7 separate regions of the Homo sapiens genome follow, and all the other regions are linked to region 3. The links are contacts of gene promoters, found by promoter capture Hi-C in blood cells and fetal thymus (Javierre and others, 2016). All regions are on one chromosome and are shown on one strand. Each heading gives the region's core, a stretch centred on a gene start or on the middle of the fragment in contact. The rest is flanking DNA. Distances are from core to core; before and after follow the strand shown. Region 1 has its middle 100 kb from the start of LINC02106. Region 2 has its middle 30 kb from the start of EMB. Region 3 holds the start of PARP8 (poly(ADP-ribose) polymerase family member 8). Region 4 has its middle 83 kb from the start of LINC02106. Region 5 has its middle 60 kb from the start of EMB. Region 6 has its middle 120 kb from the start of LINC02106. Region 7 has its middle 10 kb from the start of EMB.

Region 1 (3,007 bases), core at 291-2,790, 200 kb before region 3:
TGACATTGCTACCTTTATTAGATGCTTAGCAGTGGTTAACTTACAGCAAGAACATGAGCGGTGCCCTTGGACAGAGTGTCACAATGAGTTGCCACCACTGTATTGTAAAATCCACTTTTGACGGCTAATTTTATATTTATGTCAACTTGGCTAGGCTATGATGCCCACTTGTTTGGTTAAATGCCAGTCTAGATGTTGCTGTGAAGGTATATTTTAGATGTGACTAAAATTTACATCAGTAGACTTTGAGTAAAGCAGATTGCCCTCCAATCAATTGAAGGCCTTAAGAGGTCCTTTGAAGAGAGAAGGATTTCTGCCTCAGTCTGTCTTTGGACTCACGACTACAATATCAGTTCTTCTTGAGATCTCCAGCCTGCCAGCCTGCCTTGTACGTTTTGCACTTGCCAGCCCTCACATTCATGTGAGCCAATTTCTTAAAAGAAATCAATCTCTCTCTCTCTCTCTACACACACACACACACACACACACACACATGCACCTTATTGATTCTGTTTCTCTGTAAAGCCCTGACTTATATAACACCAAACTTAGCTGATATCTACTTTCAATCTAGCTTCTTCCTCTGATTAAGAGTGAATGATTCTTTCCAAATATAGAAGCCAATAAGCTGATGTGTTGTCAATGGCTTCCACTTGAGTTACTTCACTCCAAAATATTATTATTATTACATAAATCAAAACAAATCAGAACAGTAGCACTGAATACACGGTGACCTCTGGGATACAGAAGAGTGTTACTTCATACTAGGACAAAGGGAAAAGCTCTTCCAGGTTCCTGTGATAACACCACTCCTGCTACATCCCAGATTTAACATCCCAGTGTTTATATGGAGAGAAAAATGAGACCCCACTGGACAACATCCATCGTTGCTACCTAGTGAGGATTTCACCAAAAACATAGGAAAGCAAAAGTCTTATTTAAAACTCTACTTCTCTAAAGCAAGAAACATTTTTCTTGTGACCTTTTCAATTGATGGAATATTCAGTTGGATACACCTCATCTTTTCATTCTCTAGATTGCATTTCCTTAGAACAATGAAGAAGAGGAGCAATGTGGAAAGAAAGGGTGATGCCTGACATATAGCAGCAGATTGGCCAAAGGAAGGTAGGAATTCTGTGAAGGAGAGGAAGAGTGAAAAGAGAAAATAAAACTGGGAAATCAAGATAAAGCTGTAAAAGGGAAGCAGTAATTCATTTCCATTCCAAATCTAGACCCTTGTAAGAATTTGCAAAATTTGAAGTAGTTTTGTTTTGTTTTGTGTCTGATCAGCAATTGAGACCATATTTTTTCCTTTCAAAATAGAGCCATCAGTGTTGTTATAATCTCCAAACTATGCAAATAAATGGTCGGGTGAATTTCATTTCACCAAGTAAGGGTTGATGCTGAAATTTACTTCAGGCAGAGAAGTTAGATGCATAAGGATATGTCAAATTCTCCAGGGGCTTGTGATGAATTCTTAGAGTGTGAAGCTGCTCCCCGCTGTTGTTTGTAGATAAGGACTTTTCAAAGTGGTCTGTGGATTTGAGAAATAAAGTAAATGGAAAATTTCTCCAAGTAGGGCATATTTCTGATGACTAAGATGAGTACATTATATCTGTTCCAAGCTAAGTCAATAATGAATTGTTCCCAGATAAGCATACAAAAATGGGTTATATGTAAATTAGAGAAGAAGGAGCTGACATTAATTAACTAATTTAGTTCACTATAGAACTGGTCCAAAGAAACAAACAAAAAACTCCCAAAATACCCCTCAAAATAACTGACTGCGGTAGCATGACTTTCATCAAGTGATTTCATTAAGGTCACCAATAAATGCAGGACACGACGAACTCATTCTAGTTTCTGTGGAACAGCAAACAGTGTGGATTCTGAATTCCATAGTGCTGTTTATCTTTCACGTTTTCTTGTTTTCATGATTCAAGTGAAAAAACTGAGCACTCATTAAATGATAGGAAAATCAAACTGTAGAGTAGGTCATAAATTTGGACAGAACTGGATTAGAAAGCACATCTTGAAAGAGGCATCACTGTGACTGATGAGAAAAATCTCTTAAAATCTTTGTAAATCATTTTTCATTGAATATTTTTAAACCTTATGATCTTGTTTTTAACAAAATCGTGACGGGTTTTAAAAGGGTCTCAAAAGCTAGGCATTTAAATGGTAGCTTTCCTAATTCCAGAGAAATTGAATTCAAAAAATAATTTACCTGGAATTGAAATCAGCATAGAATGTCCCTGTTTTGCCTCCTTCCGTGGTAAACCTATGACAGTAGGATCATGCATTTTTCTTTATATTTTAAAACTATAAATATTTGAAAATGCTAGAGCTTTTCAAAGTATAATCAAAACTATAAAATGGAAGTGAAAATGGATAGACTTTCTCTCATGAAAATGGTAATTATAGCTTACTTGAAACTTATTTCACATGAAATATATAAAATGCTTATACAAGAAAAGAGAGGGAGGAGAGAGCTAGATTCCTGGGGAAGAAGATGAAAAGTGGGCCAGAAATGAAAACAGACATGGTCTACCTAAGAGAATTGTTTCTCCAGGAAATACTTCCTTTTGTAAAAATATATTCCTAGACCGCTTCCTAGAACTGGAAAGAAATCCACTCTCCTGAATGTAAAACAAGGAACCCAGGTGATGAGTCAAAATCCTTGCATTATGGCTGTCTCTTTATCGCTAGTGAATCGACATGGGTTGTTCCACATCTGTAGGCCTCAGTTTTTTAAGTTGTCAAATGGAGAGAACATCTTGTCTAAATATTTTATTGAGTCGAGGAAAAGAAAACTGAAATGCTATACATGAAAGACTCCTTAAAGTAAAAATAAAAAAACTGCTTGATTGCAATATTTTATTGCTTTGATTCCTCTACTTCAATAGTTTGTTTAGATCTTACAGGTTTTTTTTTTTTTCATTCCCAATCTCAACAGCAAAGCGAACGTTTCATAAACTCCAGTGGAGAAAAGAAACCTCCTCTGACA
Region 2 (2,910 bases), core at 347-2,846, 200 kb after region 3:
TGGAAATCAATGACCTGAACAGTTAGTTCATTAAAAAAGAAATACATATGCTATTATGTGCATTTGTCCTACTTTTATATTTGGGAAATTAACTGAATTATGTGTGATGTCTTCCCACCCAAGTATAACACAACTACTTAAGCTAGCCTCTGACAGTCACACAAGCACCCATTTAACACCCTTATTCATCAGTTAACATGAAGAGAAAATGGGCTCTGAGGATTTTCCAGTTTTGCTAATATAGGTGATAATAAAGGCCTCTGATTTTTGTGAGTTGCAGTGATTTCAAGGTTCACTTCCTGATACAAAAAGGCTTGGTGCTTTCTGTAGGATAATTTATTTTTATTTTTATTTTTATTTTTTTCTTTTTTTGGCCTCCCAGGTTCAAGCAATTCTCCTGCCTCAGCCTCCCGAGTAGCTGGGACTACAGTCATGTGCTACCACGCCCAGCTAATTTTTGTATTTTTAGTAGAGATGGGGTTTCACCATGTTGGCCAGGATGGTATTGATCTCTTGACCTCATGATCCTCCCACCTCAGCCTCCCAACGTGCTGGGATTACAGGCATGAGACAATGCACCTGGTCGATAATTTTAATATTTTTGGATTCCTGGCATCTTATGCTTGGTGGACGCAATGGCTACAGTGGTAATATACTCTTTAGGTCAGTTTTTTGTTTGTTTGTTTTTTTAAATGTAGTTTTACAATGTTGATCTTGGCTATGTAGAATTATTTTCTTCTCTAGCCCATATGATGATTTGTTTTCTTGTCTGGCTAAACTTGCCAGAATGGATTGTCTTCTTTGCTATTAACAGTCACAAGTGACATGGTAGTATGTAGGTAGTGAAAGAAGAAGGACATCCACAAAATTAAATGTGGGATTATTCTAGGGGCATAGTGGAACTTCTTCATCAAAGAGAAAGGCCAGGATGATACAGCTAATGGCATTTGAAAGCATGTAATGACCAGGCAACTAATTCAAATATCATTTAGAATGAAGTGTCATTGATGGGAAGGCCTTAGATTTCAAGTGCTGCTAAGGGTGGAACTTGCTAAGCTTGAGAATTCAAGGACTGTGAGATTGTCTGCTTATTTCCAACTGTGCTGGAGAGCCTAAAGAAGAGTATGATCATGTAAAGTTCTGAAATCTTGGCTAAAGTCAGTGTTAGAAAAACAAAAGTTTCCATCTAATGCTGAATAATATTTTGTCATTTGCAGCTTCAAAACTTAAAGTAACTAATAATCAAACTAAAAGATTTAACTTTGGAGTTTTTGCATTATACAGAGTTGAATTTGAATACTCTGTAGTTCTCTTATGTGAAAGGAAATGTATTTACTGAGAGAGAGTTGGGCTGTGAAAATTGGAATGGGCACATATGGGAGGCAGTTCCAAGATGGTAGAATAGGAACAGCTCTAGTCTACATCTAGCCCCCAGCATGAGTGATGCAGAAGACAGGTGATTTCTGCATTCCCAACTGAGGTACAGGGGTTCATCTCACTGGAGTTCATTGGCAGTGGGGGCGGGACAGTGGGTGCAGCCCATCAAGTGTGAGCTGAAGCAGCATGAGGCATTGCCTCACCCGGGAAGTGCAAGGGGTCAGGGAATTCCCTTTCCTAGCCAAGGGAGGGGGTGACAGACGGCACCTGGAAAATTGGGTCACTCCCTGCACTTTTCCAATGGTCTTAGCAAGTGGCACACCAGGAGATTATATCCCCCGCCTGGCTTGGAGGGTCCCATTCCCATGGAGCCTCACTCATTGCTAGCACAGCAGTCTGAGATCAAACTGCAAGGTGGCAGTGAGGCTGGGGGAGGGGCACCCGCCATTGCTGAGGCTTGAGTAGGTAAATAAAGCCCACCACAGCTCAAGGAGGCCTGCATGCCTCTGTAGAATCCACCTCTGAGGACAGGGCATAGCTGTACAAAAGGCAGCAGAAACTTCCGCAGACGTAAAGGTCCCTATCTGACAGTTTTGAAGAGAGTAGTGGTTCTCCCAGCATGCAGCTGGAGATCTGAGAACAGACAGACTGCCTCCTCAAGTGGCACCCGGACCCCCAAGTAGCCTAACTGGGAGGCACCCCCTAGTAGGGGCAGACTGCCACCTCACACAACCAGGTACCCCTCTGAGATGAAGCTTCCAGAGGAAAGATCAGGCAGCAACATTTGCAGTTCAGCAATATTCTCTGTTCTGCAGCCTCCACTGCTGATACCCAGGCAAACACGGTCTGGAGTGGACATCCAGCAAACTCCAACAGACCTGCAGCTGAGTGTTCTGACTGTTAGAAGGAAAACTGACAAACAGAAAGGACATCCACACCAAAACCCCATCTGTACATCACCATCATCAAAGAACAAAGGTAGATAAAACCACAAAGGTGGGGAAAAAACAGAGCAGAAAAGCTGAAAATTCTAAAAATCAGAGCACATTTCCCCCTCCAAAGGAATGCAGCTCCTCTCCAGTAATGGAACAAAGCTGGATGGAGAATGACTTTGATGAGATGAGAGAAGAAGTCTTCAGATGATGAAACTTCTCTGAGCTAAAGGAGGAAGTTTGAACCCAATGCAAAGAAGTTAAAAACATTAAAAAAGATTAGATGGATGGCGAATTAGAATAACCAGTGTAGATAAGTCCTTAAACGACCTGATGCAGCTGAAAACCATGGCAAGAGAACTACGTGATGAATGCACAAGCTTCAGTAGCTGATTCGATGAACTGGAAGAAAGGGTATCAGTGATTGAAGATCAAATGAATGAAATGAAGTGAGAAGAGAAGTTCTGAGATAAAAGAGTAAAAAGAAGTGAACAAAGCCTCCAAGAAATATAAGACTATGTGAAAAGACCAAATCTTCGTCTGATTGGTGTACCTGAACGTGATGGGGAGAATGGAACCAAGCTGGAAAACACTCTTCAGG
Region 3 (2,730 bases), core at 176-2,675:
AAAGTCCCGTCAAAAGCTACCCCTGGAGTGGATTTGTTTTAACCCCGATCAGGACTTGAGCCCCACATTCGGTGGTGTCAGGGGAGGCCTGGCCGGGCAGAAGGCAAGGGCTAGAGGGCGGCGAGGTCCCTCTGCGCCGCGTCCGAGGGGATGCGGCGCGCCCCCGACTGGGTGCAGCGGGAGGCCGCCCCCCGCAACAAGTGCCGGGTGCCATGGCAACAGCGGGAATTTCCCGATAGGGGAGGCCGGAAGCAGCCTCAGCCGGGCTCGCGGTAGCGAAAGCAAAATCCCGGGGGAGCAAAATGGACGAAAGGCGACCCCCAGGCAGGGGCGCTGGGTGCCTTGGGAATCCGAGGAATCCCTTCTCTTTGCCAGTCGGAGGGGACTAGAGGGAGCCGAAGGGGCCGGAGATGGGCCGAGCGCTGCCCCCCGGGGGTCCTCGGCGCCGGGCGCAGCTTACAAGCGCAGCGCAGCGCAGCAGGCTCCATTCCCGGCCGCCGCCGCTCAGCCCATTGCGCAAACCAACCCCGCTCTGCCGCCGCTGCTGGAACCCAGGAAGCGTGCTTGGAGGCTTCGGGCACTACGCGGGGCTGGAAATACCACGCACTGCCCCTTCGCCTAGACCCCCGCTCCGGCCACGCGGGCTCTGCCCTCAAAGCTGGTGGCTGCCTCAGACTTGGCGGTGGGGGAGGGGAAGGGGAGAGGCTGGCGCCCCCTCCCCCTTTTGGCTCCCGCGCTCGTTGCAGCAGCTGTTGCCAAATGAACCCCAGAATGGGGACGTGCAACCCTCCACCCCACCCCCAGCCACAGACGTCGCGGTCAGAAAACTGGGAAGGGGGCGCTGGGTCCGAGGTTCTGGAAAAGCAAGAACTCACCTGCAAACAGGCAGTCCTTCTCAGCTCTGGACTTCTGGATCACGACGTCGATATCCTTCTGAATTCGCTCTTGCCTTGAACACATCCCCATTAAATAAATCCCTGGAAAAGAAGCAGCCGCTATTTCCACCCCACCCCACCCCCCTCGCACGCTTCCAGCTTTCGTAAATATTCAGTTAAAAATGAAACCTCTGGCCGAGGCAGGGGCTGAAGGCGAAGTGGTTTCGGAAGTGATCCTGGGTGAGAGAAGAGGAGGAGGAGGAGGGGGAGGAGGAGGAGGAGGGGGAGGTCGGCTTTGCATTCCCAGATGTGACCGCCCAGCTGCTGCTCGCCGCTGCTGGATTCCAATTTCCTCCCCTTCTGACAATGGATGGTGATGACACCAAGTCTCACTTTCTCCCTCACCCGCCCGGACCAACGGCCGTGGGGGCCGAGGTGCCGGGGACAGCCAGAGAGCAATCACCGGCTGGGCGGCGGGCGCCGGCGAGGGGCGAGCCCCGCTCCGGCTCACGCGCGCACACCCCTCACGGCTCGCACGCCGGCCTTCCACACCCGCGCACACTCGCGCCCGCGGGCGGCGGCAGCCGTGCCCAGGCTGCTGCAGCGCCGCCCGCCCGCCGCAGACCCTCCGCGCCCGCCGCCTAGTCACCCCGCCGGCCGCGGGCTGCCGGGGCTCGCAGAGTATTAGCCATCCCGGGCGGGAGCCGCTTCTCCCCACACCGACCTCCACTCGCGCCGGGAGCTGAGCGGTCGTGAAGACTCCCTGGGGCTCCCAGCCTTCCCTCTCCGCGCCCCTCCCCCCATCACTTTTATGAATTCGACTCCACTTTCTAAAGGAATTATAGTCTTGTGGCAAACCCAAACCGGAGTGGCTGGGAGGGGGAAAAGGGGGGAAAAGAAAATCTTTAAAAATTAAAAAAATAATAAAACGAACAAATCTTTCCTTATTGCCACATCACATAACACGGAAAAGGCCTTAAAATTACTCCAGACGTGCACCCTCCCCTTCCCTCAGTGCCTGAGTCTTTTTCCTCCAGATCGAAGTAGTTCAGCCCTTTTGGGGCGCCGTTTACGAAACACAGCCCCTTTTGAGGGACTTCCTCCTCTTGAAACTCACCAGTTCTCCCTTCCTAGGTGTTTCTGTTCATGAGAAATGGTCAGAATCAACTGGCACGTTCCAGGGTCTTCCTAAAAGATGGAAACCTGTTTGGCTTGATTTTTAAAACCACCTCCTTTGACAGTCAAGGGAAAGCTACAATCCAGGTGTTCAGAAATGAGATACTGCTCTGATTCTCACTTTCTGTTCTGCCTAAGGACACCCCAGGCTGACGTAGCTGCCCCACCTCTATATTGGTTTATGCCCTAGGAGAGGTCTCCAGCAGGCACTTTTCTTGTTGATCTTTTCTCCACTGAGAAGGCTCCCGCCAGTAGACCATGACTCCTTTTGCTTTGCATACTCAGTGCCATGTACAGTGCCTGGAATACAGGAGGGTGGCCTAAATGTTGGCTGAATGCACGAATGGTCATTTCTTGCAGCCTCTTTTCATTACCCTGTCTCATCACTTTTCTTATCAGCATAAGTGCCCAAGAGTTGCCAAACTGTTTCAGACCCTTAATCAATTTAGTTCTGATTCTGACCGTGACAACATGATGTTCAGCACGGTAGGAATGACTGCCATCCCTGAAGGAGTCTTAAGATTCTGTAGAATCAATGAAAGATCCTATGTTCTAACTCCTTTATCTTTCAGGAAACAAATTACAAAATAATTTCCTTGTCCAGTCATATTCACTATGAGTTACAAAAGGAAACATTCTGCATTATTGAGATCCACTGCAGCCTTTGATGTAGTAAAGC
Region 4 (3,020 bases), core at 304-2,803, 220 kb before region 3:
CTTCTAGATATCTGCTGTAGTGTCTATAGTTAACAATACAAGTGGTATGCACTTAAAAGTTGTTAAGACAGCAGACCTCATGTTAAGTGCTCTTACCACAAAATAAATAAAGTTAAAAAGCAAAGAGACACAAGGAAACTTTGGAAGTGACAGATGTGCTTATTGCCTTGATTATGGTGATGGTATCCATGTGTATACATATGTCCAAATACACATTAAATATATGCAGTGAGTTTTTATTTGAAGTAGTGAAACTAAGGGAAAGAGAACATTGCATGGAGGGACATATTATTCATTAATTCATGCAGTTGGAATGAATATGAGTTATATGTATGTGTTGGGAGTGTGAGGGGCAGATGCAATGGGAAAATCAGACTGATGAAAGAATAAGAGTTCTTTTGAGGCACTGTGGAAGATGGTTCAATGGGAGCCAGTTAATTAGGGGCTTTGAAGGCTGAGTTGCAGAATTTGAAACAAGTACAAAAGGCAGAGGGGAACCATTAACAACTATGATTCATGGTGAACTTTGCATGTGATTGAGCAGGGAAGTAGGAACGCCAATGAAGTATTTTTTCCACATGGCAGATGAGAGGTGGTGAGAGTGATAGTGAGGCTGGGAAATCTCAAGCGAAGCGGAAATGAAGGATGAAAGAAAGATATTGGGAAAAGCTCTTAGGAACTCTAGATAATAACTGCTAGGTGCTAGGCATCAGCCTATTACAGTAAGGTCACTTTCAAGTAAAGAATAATATCAAAGAGCCTAGGGCTTGTCTTTATGATTCTGGAATGTCTTCATGAAAAGTAGAGTGTTATTCAATTGTTCAAATATTTCTGTGGACAAGCATTTAAGGAAGATTTGGAAACTGGGCAACATTACACACTTCTGATAATTGGTAGATTTATAATACTTACGTCAAAGGCCACCAGAAGAGAGAATACTTCATAGCTATAGAAGAGAAAGTCCTTCCATGTGCAGACAGAATCGCCAAATATGTCCTATGTTACCTAGCAAAGAAGTGATGATGCAATTATTTCACTAGAAAAGTAGATGGGCAAGGTCAATTCTTAAAAAGCTATCAGGTGGAAGAGGATTGACTGTTAGGATAGTTTTAGACATGCTTATTTTTCAATAATGCTTATTTTTCAATAATGCTTATTTTATTATGAATAAGATAAAATTGATAATAATTATGGACCCATGCTCGTTTGACAACAACAAAGCAGATTTTAGGTTAGGCATATTTGAGTACAAAAAACGGTGAACAACTAAAGCCAGATTTTTTTTTCTGGATTTTGTGAATTCACAGATGTTCAGCCACAAAACCTAATTCAGGTATAAACTAGTGCTTCTTAAAGTATATTTTTTGCTCTGGCCAAACCAAAGTTTTCTCCTGAAATTACAATGATAATTCAATCAGACACAGTGTAATGACTACATTAACATTTGGTGGGAATGTTAGGACCAGCATCAGAGTCCCCAGGGAAAATAACCCTCAGTTATTTATGGACCTAAGAGCAGGTGCTCAATTTTATCTCCTCTGAAAGCCTGCCGTTTCAGCAATTTAGCATCTCTCATCATCACAGCCACAGGGAGTTGATTAGTGTGATACTGAGGAAAAAAAAAAGATACCATCTATAGAATAATCAGTTCTATTTCTTTACTAGTGGGCAAGAGGGTAACTGCTGCTTGTCCAGCTTCATGAAGGGGAGAGGACCAAGTCACAATCATTCTTTCTACCTGCCCCTTGTCACACTCTTCTCTCCATGAGAGTCAGAGAGAGTCTGGCTGGGTAAACTGCAGCAGTCTGCTGCCTCAGCAGGAGTCTTCCTTACCTTGGGAAGTTTACAGCAGGAAGTTTACAGCAGGAACTTGGAACTTTACAGCGGGAATTTGCTTGGGAACTTTACAGCAGGAATGAACCTGAGAGTGGGCCACTGTAAAGGCCAGCTCTGGTAGACATGTTTATTGGGGGAAGTCAGATATTCATATTGCCCCAACTTTCTCTCTTATGAATCCCTCTTTTGTTAAAGAATGCATCTAGTTGACTTTTTACATCACCCCAAAACATTTCTTCTTGGGATTTATCTTTTTAAAAAAACCTCAGTATGATTATAGCATCCGTTAAAATTAGGCATGTGTGTCACCTCACTTTTAGGATTAAAATCAAAATTATGTCATGGCCTAAAAGACCTCCATGATCCAGCCACTGGCTGCTAGTCTGTGCAGCCTCATCCCCATTACTCCCTTTGTAGATCACCCTGTTCTGTCCAGACAGCTTCTTTCTGTTACCCCAGTCCCCATGCTCCTTCCCACCCCAGTACCCTACAGGGGCTCTTTTCTCATTGGGCAATGGTCTCATCTCATTTCTACCTGGCTAATTCTTCCTCACCTTTTCAGTCTGAGGTCATGCCACTTCCATAGAGGACACATTTTACTGCCAAATTCAGATTAGATTCCACTTAATATACCCTCTGATACACTATAGTTTTCCTCCATGACACTTAGCAAAATTGTTGTGACATAACAGTTATTTGGTAGTTGGGTTTTTTGTTTGTTTTTAATATCCCTCTCTCCTACACAGATGTAAGATCCTTGGGACAGGAACAGCATCTTTTCTGTTACCACCTAATCTCAGCATGGTGCTGATACATAATTAATGCTCACTAGGTATTTGGTGAATGTAGGATTTCACCAAATCCTTTCATCCCCCACCAGGACCTGAAGGAGTAGTAATATTGTTAGTATCCAACATTTTGCCACAAGTAATATGTATTTTAGTAGCACTTCTAGAAAAATGAGTTTAAGACATCATCTAAACAGTAAGATTTGCAAAGACTGTACTAGGACTGAGTCCTGACTTCAAAAGTCAGCTCTGGTCAGTTGCAGTGTGCTCATGCCTATAATCCCAACAATTTGATAGTCCAAGGAGGGAGGATCCCTTAAGGCCAGGAGTTCAAGACCATCCTGGGCTACATAGTGAGACCCTGTCTCTGCCAACAGTTTTTTTAAAATATTAGCC
Region 5 (3,043 bases), core at 274-2,773, 170 kb after region 3:
TTCTGAATACTCTTTTCTGCAGACAAAATGGGATTGAGGAAAATACTCTAGACAAAGTACAATAAAGCATTTTAGAGACCAATTATAATTTAGTCCAGTAAAAGGTAGAAAATAGATAACTACAAATAATCCTAAAACCTGATGTGCAGTAGTATGTGATTATTTTAATATAATGCTGATGAAATTCCCCATTAGATGGGAATATAGGGAAAATACCATTTTGTATTCCAAATACATTTATATACAATGCAGAATGTAGCAGTATAGCTATTTGATGGATATATGTAATATTGAAAGTTAAATATTGTAATTTTGATAAAATAGTTTTGCATTTACTTCCCTTAAATTTAGTATTAGATATATAAAGTGCAGAGCCTACCTAATAGGGAATAATCAGTAATTGCATATATGACACACACATGCTTGAGCACACACACACGCTTGAGCACACACACACACACACACACTTCCACAGTGTAAGAGCCAGGCTGTATTTGCAACCTTGGGAAATTTAAACTACAGAGAAAAACGTGGCTGTTTCTTTCAAGTAAACAATAATTGTGAGTGCAGAGAGGCTAATCCAGTCAGGTACTAATGCTCATGAAATTGTGTAGAAAGTGAAAAGAATAGTGTAAATTATGGAATAAAGCAAATTCAACTAAAGAGCTTATTTAGTAACAGATTATCAAGAGTCCATCTTCTCTTCTGCTTTTCTCTTTCTCTTCCTTTGTATATAAAAGATGTTGCCTATCTTCCCATCTACAAACTTGAGTTATTTAGAGAAGTGAAACTGAAAGGCAGAAGTCTAGAATTTCCTCAAGGAGTAATATCTCATTTCAAACTATGCCACTTCAAAGATAAATGACTGTTGAAATAGGAAACATAAGTAGTGTAAGGCCTTCAATGGGTAAAATCAGTTATTTGAAATTACTCTAGAAGTTGCAAAATACTTTAGCTTCTAAGATGAGATAAGGGCTAATTAAGAATTTTTTTGCTATATATTTATGGAGCTACTTCTGGTAATACTTTAAAGTAAAAATGTTTAACTTTTAATATCACATTTTTTACGTTTTCTAAAGTTTTATTGTTTCATTCTTACTGAAATTAAAACATTCTTTAAAGAAATGTTTTATTTACTAAAAATAAAGATTCTGCAAAAAACTTATAGATAGCATATATAGTAATCATAAGCAAAAGACAAATTTTAGTTCTGCCAACCTGAGAAAAATTTAAATTAGCCTTCCAAAAGTATTCATTTTCAGTTTTAGAGAAAAAGTTGAATAAGTAAATGGATGTATGTATGCATATGTTTGTGTATGTGTGCCAGTGTGTATACCCAAAATGTCTCTGTGTTTTAGTGCTCACTCTCAAATATATGATATGAATCGTCCAGCGACATATTTAACTCTATACATGAGTAACTTTAATATCTTTCTTTGAAATCTTTTGAATAATATCTAATAAATATAGAAATTCAATGCATGTTTATTACTTATGCATTATAATCTTTTAAATATTAATGTTCCAAATAATCTATATTAATAAATGCTGGATGAAAGAATGCATCTCTTGGGAATCAACACATGTGAACTATTAGTCATCATTTGTCACTTTCAAATAACGTTATTCCATTCTCTAAATCAGTGGCTTCCAAAGTGATTTGTATGTATTTCAGGGGATGTTCCAGAATGTTGTCTACAGGGCAAGAAAAAAAATAGAATTTGCATTTGGATGTATTTTTATATAAAAAATACAAAGTAAGTCTTTAGTAGTTAATTTAAATTTTTTTTCTTTTTTAAATTATATTTTAAGTTTTAGGGTACATGTGCACAACGTGCAGGTTAGTTACATATGTATACATGTGCCATGTTGGTGAGCTGCACCCATTAACTCGTCATTTAAAATTAGGTATATCTCCTACTGCTATCCCTCCCCCTTCCCCCCACCCCACAACAGCCCCGGTGTGTGATGTTCCCCTTCCTGTGTCCATGTGTTCTCATTGTTCAATTCCCACCTATGAGTGAGAACATGTGGTGTGTGGTTTTTTGTCCTTGCGATAGTTTGCTGAGAATGATGGTTTCCAGCTTCATCCATGTCCCTACAAAGGACATGAACTCATCATTTTTTATGGCTGCATAGTATTCCATGGTGTATATGGGCCACATTTTCTTAATCCAGTCTATCATTGATGGACATTTGGGTTGGTTCCAAGTCTTTGCTATTGTGAATAGTGCCGCAATAAACATACGTGTGCATGTGTCTTTATGGCAGCATGATTTATAATCCTTTGGGTATATACCCAGTAATGGGATGGCTGGGTCAAATGGTATTTCTAGTTCTAGATCCCTGAGGAATCGCCACACTGACTTCCACAAAGGTTGAACTAGTTTACAGTCCCACCAACAGTGTAAACGTGTTCCTATTTCTCCACATCCTCTCCAGCACCTGTTGTTTCCTGATTTTTAACGATCACCATTCTAACTGATGTGAGATGGTATCTCATTGTGGTCTTGATTTGCATTTCTCTGATGGCCAGTGATGATGAACATTTTTTCATGTGTCTTTTGGTGGCAATAAATGTCTTCTTTTGAGTAGTGTCTGTTCATATCCTTCGCCCACTTTTTTATGGGTTTGTTTTTTTCTTGTAAATTTGTTTGAGTTCATTGAAGATTCTGGATATTAGCCCTTTGTCAGATGAGTAGATAGCAAAAATTTTCTCCCATTCTGTAGGCTGCCTGTTCACTCTGATGGTAGTTTCTTTTTTGTGAAGAAGCTCTTTAGTTTAATTAGATCCCATTTGTCAATTTTGGCTTTTGTTGCCATTGCTTTTGGTGTTTTAGACATGAAGTCCTTGCCCATGCCAATGTCCTGAATGGTAATGCCTAGGTTTTCTTCTAGGGTTTTTATGGTTTTAGGTCTAATGTTTAAGTCTTTAATCCATCTTGAATCAATCTTTGTATAAGGTGTAAGGAAGGGATCCAGTTTTAGCTTTCTACATATAGCCAGCCAGTTTTCCCAGCACCATTTATTAAATAGGGAATCC
Region 6 (2,700 bases), core at 197-2,696, 180 kb before region 3:
TTCAGGAATGCAATTTTTTACAAAAAGAGCCCTAGAAATAGTGATAGCTATAAATCAGTGCTCCAGGAGAGCTACAAAATGTTTCAGGTATTTGGAGCAGAGAGAGATCTTTTATGGCTAGATGAAAAGTACAAGTATTCATGTACTCAGGGGTACATGAACTTGACCTTGAATTATGGGTAGATTTGCAACAGGCAGCAACTCAAAGAAAAAGAATCCAAATAATACACTACAGAAAACTATTCCACTCCTGAGCTGCTGTTATTAGAACTAGAAAATTGACTATGCTGTAAGCCTACAACTATTAAGAAATATGTATCCCAGAAGTTAACCAGGAAACACATAAAGAATAGAAATGTTCCCAATTTCAGGGCAGCAAAAATTAAGTTAGAGGTTGACAGAGAAAAATGTGTAATAAAATTCAAGTTAGTTACAATTTATACTATGTTAGAAGAATGCAATTCCCTTGGAAGAAACTGTATTTTCCCATTGACTTATAGTTACAGATGTGCTTAATTCCATCACTGATTTATTATTACTAGTAATGAATATTAGTACTATAGCTTAAAGTAGCTCTCTTTCTTGTATGTCAAGTAGTTAATGACCTGTAAATGAACTCAAGTATGTTAGGGAAGCTCATTATTTAAGGTAATTATTTAGCAAAGCAATGATCCTTTGGTTATGCAAATTACTGACATTAAGTTATAAATTTGTAAGTATCTAGTTTTATGTTTCATTCTGGGCCCTCAAAGCGACCTTCCAATCCAGGTATTGCTTGCTCTAAAGTTAAAATGCAAATATATACTTCAAGAGTAAGAGAGAGTGTAGATGTTGCCAACATTATGAGGTTCCTACATTTTCCTGCAGGTGATAGAGCTGGAAATGATGCCCAGGATGATAGTGATGATGGTGATCAGAACAGTGATAGCCTTGGCTTGACATGTCCCCACCATGGGTATTTATTTAGATGTATGAATCTAGTATGTACCAATAGAAGACATATCTAAGATTTTCAGCTTTAATGCCACTTTATTTGAAGACTGTTTTTCTCAGATAGACATTTGTAATATTGTGTATGTGTACACCCACTTAAGTCCCAAACATTTAGTCGGTACTGGAAATAATCTGTGCATGGTGGTATGGAGGAAGGGTAGCCGGGTTGGGGGGAAAAAGCAGGCAAATCAATAAACATTTTCAACACTGTGTGCTAAGTGAAATAGATGAACTATGGCCAGATACTTGGAAAAGATCTAGAAGGACCATTTGGTTTAGACTGGGAATAAGTTGAGAGTCAAAAGAAGTATAAATTGGAAATGGTGACTGGGGCAGAAAGAAAAAGCAAGTGAGAGGTGGGAAGCAATGGGCTGTTCTTGGAACTGCCAAGAATTCAGTGGGGTTGCAATGCTGAGTGTAAGGTGGTGGTGGAAAATGAGGCTGGAGAGGGATGAGAGGGAAGCAGGGGCTTGACCATGAAGGGTCATGTGTGAAAGGTTTGATGAGAAATTTTTACTGAGTGAGAAACTGGGAGATATTGAAGGGATTTTAAACAAAGGAATTACAAAATTGGATTTTCATTTCAGTAAGATCACTTTAGCTTCAGCATTAAGAGAGGGCAAAGGGTCAGGAAGGAGGTAGAGCCAGTCATAGCCTATTTAGCAGGGGGCAAAGTACAGGAGGAAGGTCCGTCCTCTGTGTGTTAAGCTAACATTTTTGTTGCTGCATCTGGGCAATATGGGGCTGGATGTCTATTTACTAACATACAGAGGCATTCAGTATTTTACCAATCGTAAGTGTACTATGTGCTAGCTGAATTTGTTCCCGGTAAAGGGTACTGGATTAAGTCAAGGATACTGCTATAACCTACATGAATGTTAGCAAAGGAAGTCACAGGAGAGAACGAGGTTGTTGAACACATCATCAAGACACTCAACAAGAAAAATTAACAAGGCTTAGCTATTGATTGGAGGATGGGACTGGGTGAAAGGGAAGGGGATAGGGGATAATTTCTCTTCTCACTTGGGCAAACAGGTGGAAGGTGTGGCCATTCTTTGGTTCGTTGATAACAGTGCAAGAAGAGGAGTAGAATGGTGGGGGGTGGGGACATTTGTTAGAGTTTGTTTGAGGTGTCCCGGGAACATTCAGGAAGAGATGTTTGTTTGGAGGTATTTGATCATGTAATTTTGAAGCTCAAGGGAAAGATCAAAGAAGAGCTGCAGATTTAAGAGTCATCAGACTCATCAGACTACAGGTCAGAGTTGGAGCCATTCACAGTGGGTTGTGTCTTTCAAGTTGAGTGTAAAGAATAGGATGCCACCATTCTGGGTGGTGAGTCCTAAGTGTTCCCCAGGCTAAAATGCCTCTCTCTCTCTCTCTCTCTCTCTCTCTCTCACACACACACACACACACACACACACACACACACGATAGATCTTGGAAATAATAAATCACATTAAAACAGAAAGGAGATTTACTGCACTACTGCAACCATTCTCTTACAGATCTCAGTATTTAGTAAGCCTGGTTTTACAGGTGTAGGGGAGATTTGTTCTCAAACATGTCTCCATGTGATTCAGAATACTCCTTCTCTCTTCTTTCCCTTCACATGGCTGAATATGTGCTCACAGGCTTCTTAGTGTAGAGCCAGCATAGCCAAGTCATTTGTCTTCAGTCAGTCCTTCTCGGAATACTAAATGCTATGGG
Region 7 (2,876 bases), core at 52-2,551, 210 kb after region 3:
ACATGGACACAGGAAGGGGAACATCACACTCTGGGGATGGTTGTGTGGTGGGGGGATGGGGAGGGATAGCACTGGGAGATATACCTAATGCTAGATGACCAGTTAGTGGGTGCAGTGCACCAGCATGGCACATGTATACATATGTAACTAACCTGCACATTGCGCACATGTACCCTAAAACTTAAAGTATAATAATAATAAATAAAAAAAAAGAAATTGTGCTACATGTATACCATGGGATACTATGCAGCCATAAAAACAATGAGATCATGTCTTTTGTGGGAAGATGGATGGAGCTGGAAGCTACTATCCTTAGTAAACTAACACAGGAACAGAAAACAAAATATTGCTTGTTCTCACTTATATGTGGGAGCTAAATTATGAGAACTCATGAACACAAAGAAGATAACAACAGACTCTGGGGCCTATTGGAGTGTGGAGGGTGGGAGGAGGGAAAGGGGCAGAAAAAATAACTATTGGGTACTAGGCTTCATACCTGAGTGATGAAATAATCTGTACAACAAACTCTGATGACAAGAGTTTCACATGTATTCTCAAACGTGAAATAAAAGTTAAAAACAAACAAAGCTGTCATTCAAGAATAGTGTATCTAGCAAACTTATTATGAAGATGATATAAAATGTTTTCCAGGCAAAGAAAACCTGAGAGAATTCACCACTACCTGATTCATCTTACAAGAAATGCTAAGGGGAATTCTTCCTTCTGAAAGTAAAAATGGTTAATGTTCAAAAACAAAATTATGGTATAAAACATGTTGGTAAAATTACGTTCATGAATAAACTTGAGAGGTGAAGCCAGCTGGGCTTCTGGGATGGGTGGGGATTTGGAGAACTTTTCTGTCTAGCTAGAGGATTGTAAATGCACCAATCAGTATTCTCTAAAAATGGATCAATCAGCACTCTGTAAAATGGACCAATCAGCAGGATATGGGTAGGGCCAAATAAGGGAATAAAAGCTGGCCACCCGAGCCAGCAGTGGCAACCCACTCAAGTTCCCTTCCATGCTGTGCAAGCTTTGTTCTTTTGCTCTTCATAATAAATCTTGCTGCTGCTCACTGTGTCCGCACTACCTGTATGAGCTGTAACACTCACTGTAAGGGTCTGTGGCTTCATTCCTGAAGTCAGCATGAACACGAACCCACCAGAAGGAATAACTCTGGATACACCACCTTTAAGAGCTGTGACACTCACTGTGAGGTCCGCGGCTTCATTCTTGAAGTCAGCGAGACCAAGAACCCACTAGAAGGAATAAACTCAGGACACACCTTGCCGACCCAGATGGGACTTTCACCAAGTGATGGGAAACACTCAGACACCAACAGGCCCACCCTTGCAATGCATCCTAAGCCATTGGGACCAATTTGACCAGCAAACCCTGAAAAAGAGGTGGCTCATTTTTTTTGGCAATATGGCCTGGCCCCAATATCATCTCTCTGATGGGGAAAAATGGCCACCTGAGGGAAGTACAAATTACAATACTATCCTGCAGCTTGACCTTTTCTGTAAAAGGGAAGGCAAATGGAGTGAAATATCTTATATCCAAGCTTTCTTTTCATTGAAGGAGAATCCACAACTATGCAAATCTTCTAATTTATATCCCACAAGAGGACCTGTCAGCTTACCCCCATATCCTAGCTTCCCTATAGCTCCCCTTCCTATTAATGATAAGCCTCCTCTAATATCCCTGCCCAGAAGGAAACAAGGAAAGAAATCTCCAAGTGACCACAAAAACCCCCAGGCTATCAGTTATGTCCTCTTTAAGCTGTAGGGAGTGGGGAATTTGGCCCAACCTGGGTACATGTCCTCTTCTCCCTCTCTGATTTAAAGCAGATCAAGGCAGACCTGGGGAAGTTTTCAGATGATCCTGATAGGTATATAGATGTCCTACAGGGTCTAGGGCAAACATTCAATCCCACCTGGAGAGATGTCATGCTATTAGATCAAACCCTGGCCTTTAATGAAAAGAATGCGGCTTTAGCTGCAGCCTGAGAGTTTGAAGATACCTGGTATCTTAGTCAAGTAAATGATAGAGTGACAGACGAAGAAAGGGACAAATTCCCTACCAGTCAGCAAGCCATCCCCAGTATGGATCCCCACTGGGACCTAGACTCACATCATTGGGACTGGAGTCACAAACATCTGTTGATCTGTGTTCTAGAAGGACTAAGGAGAATTAGAAAAAAGCCCATGAATTATTCAATGAAGTCCACCATAACTCAGGGAAAGGAAGAAAATCCTGCTTTCCTTGAGTGGCTACAGGAGACCCTAAGAAAATATACTCCCCTGTCACCTGACTCCCTCGAGGGTCAATTGACCCTAAAAGATAAGTTTATTACCCAATCAGCCGCAGATATCAGGAGAAAGCTCCAAAAGCGAGCTCTGAGCCCTGAACAAAATCTGGAGGCATTATTAAACCTGGCAACCTTAGTGTTCTATAATAGGGACCAAGAGGAACAGGCTGAAAAGGAAAAGTGAGATCAGAGAAAGGCCACAGCCTTAGTCATGGCCCTCAGACAAACCTTGGTGGTTCAGACAGGACAGAAAATGGAGCAGGCCAATCACCTGTTAGGGCTTGTTATCAGTGTGGTTTGCAAGGACACTTTAAAAAAGATTGTCCAATGAGAAACAAGCCGCCCCCTCACCCATGTCCATTATGCCAAGGCTATCACTGGAAGGCTCATTGTCCCAGAGGACAAAGGTTCTCTGGGTCAGAAATCCCCAACCAGATGATCCAACAACAGGACTGAGGGTGCCCAGGGCAAGCGCCAGCTCATGTCATCAACCTTACTGAGCCTCAGGTACATTTATCTATTGAGGGCCAGGAAATTGACTTCCTCCTGGACACTGGTGCATCTT

Evidence for each region. The method cuts DNA at HindIII sites, captures the fragments that hold promoters and counts their contacts. A CHiCAGO score of 5 or more calls a contact.
Region 1: a contact is called between a fragment that was not itself captured here and the fragment with the promoter of PARP8 in region 3, in 1 of 17 cell types (M0 macrophages). The highest score is 7.2, in M0 macrophages.
Region 2: a fragment that was not itself captured here is called in contact with the fragment with the promoter of PARP8 in region 3 in 2 of 17 cell types (non-activated CD4 T cells and naive B cells); the score reaches 7.2 in non-activated CD4 T cells.
Region 4: a contact is called between a fragment that was not itself captured here and the fragment with the promoter of PARP8 in region 3, in 1 of 17 cell types (M0 macrophages). The highest score is 5.0, in M0 macrophages.
Region 5: a fragment that was not itself captured here is called in contact with the fragment with the promoter of PARP8 in region 3 in 2 of 17 cell types (neutrophils and total CD4 T cells); the score reaches 6.3 in neutrophils.
Region 6: a contact is called between a fragment that was not itself captured here and the fragment with the promoter of PARP8 in region 3, in 2 of 17 cell types (neutrophils and monocytes). The highest score is 5.6, in neutrophils.
Region 7: a fragment that was not itself captured here is called in contact with the fragment with the promoter of PARP8 in region 3 in 9 of 17 cell types (naive CD4 T cells, non-activated CD4 T cells, total B cells and 6 more); the score reaches 11.0 in naive CD4 T cells.

Annotation. Positions count from the first base shown.
Region 1 is chr5:50,868,094-50,871,100 of GRCh38, reverse strand. No RefSeq gene overlaps it. Among named protein-coding and RNA genes, the nearest start is that of LINC02106, 100 kb to the left of the region's middle. The HindIII fragment of the contact is 4,885 bases long and covers 1-3,007 here.
Region 2 is chr5:50,469,866-50,472,775 of GRCh38, reverse strand. No RefSeq gene overlaps it. Among named protein-coding and RNA genes, the nearest start is that of EMB, 30 kb to the right of the region's middle. The HindIII fragment of the contact is 1,076 bases long and covers 1,059-2,134 here.
Region 3 is chr5:50,665,332-50,668,061 of GRCh38, reverse strand. It overlaps PARP8 (poly(ADP-ribose) polymerase family member 8), which reads right to left and starts at 1,425. Exons shown (of 26, transcript NM_024615.4): 1 at 876-1,425. The coding sequence starts at 966. RefSeq lists silencers at 301-630, 1,323-1,382, 1,433-1,582 and enhancers at 1-802, 238-1,150. The HindIII fragment of the contact is 4,109 bases long and covers 1-2,730 here.
Region 4 is chr5:50,885,663-50,888,682 of GRCh38, reverse strand. No RefSeq gene overlaps it. Among named protein-coding and RNA genes, the nearest start is that of LINC02106, 83 kb to the left of the region's middle. The HindIII fragment of the contact is 3,553 bases long and covers 1-3,020 here.
Region 5 is chr5:50,499,477-50,502,519 of GRCh38, reverse strand. No RefSeq gene overlaps it. Among named protein-coding and RNA genes, the nearest start is that of EMB, 60 kb to the right of the region's middle. The HindIII fragment of the contact is 5,250 bases long and covers 1-3,043 here.
Region 6 is chr5:50,848,722-50,851,421 of GRCh38, reverse strand. No RefSeq gene overlaps it. Among named protein-coding and RNA genes, the nearest start is that of LINC02106, 120 kb to the left of the region's middle. The HindIII fragment of the contact is 5,806 bases long and covers 1-2,700 here.
Region 7 is chr5:50,450,317-50,453,192 of GRCh38, reverse strand. No RefSeq gene overlaps it. Among named protein-coding and RNA genes, the nearest start is that of EMB, 10 kb to the right of the region's middle. The HindIII fragment of the contact is 531 bases long and covers 1,036-1,566 here.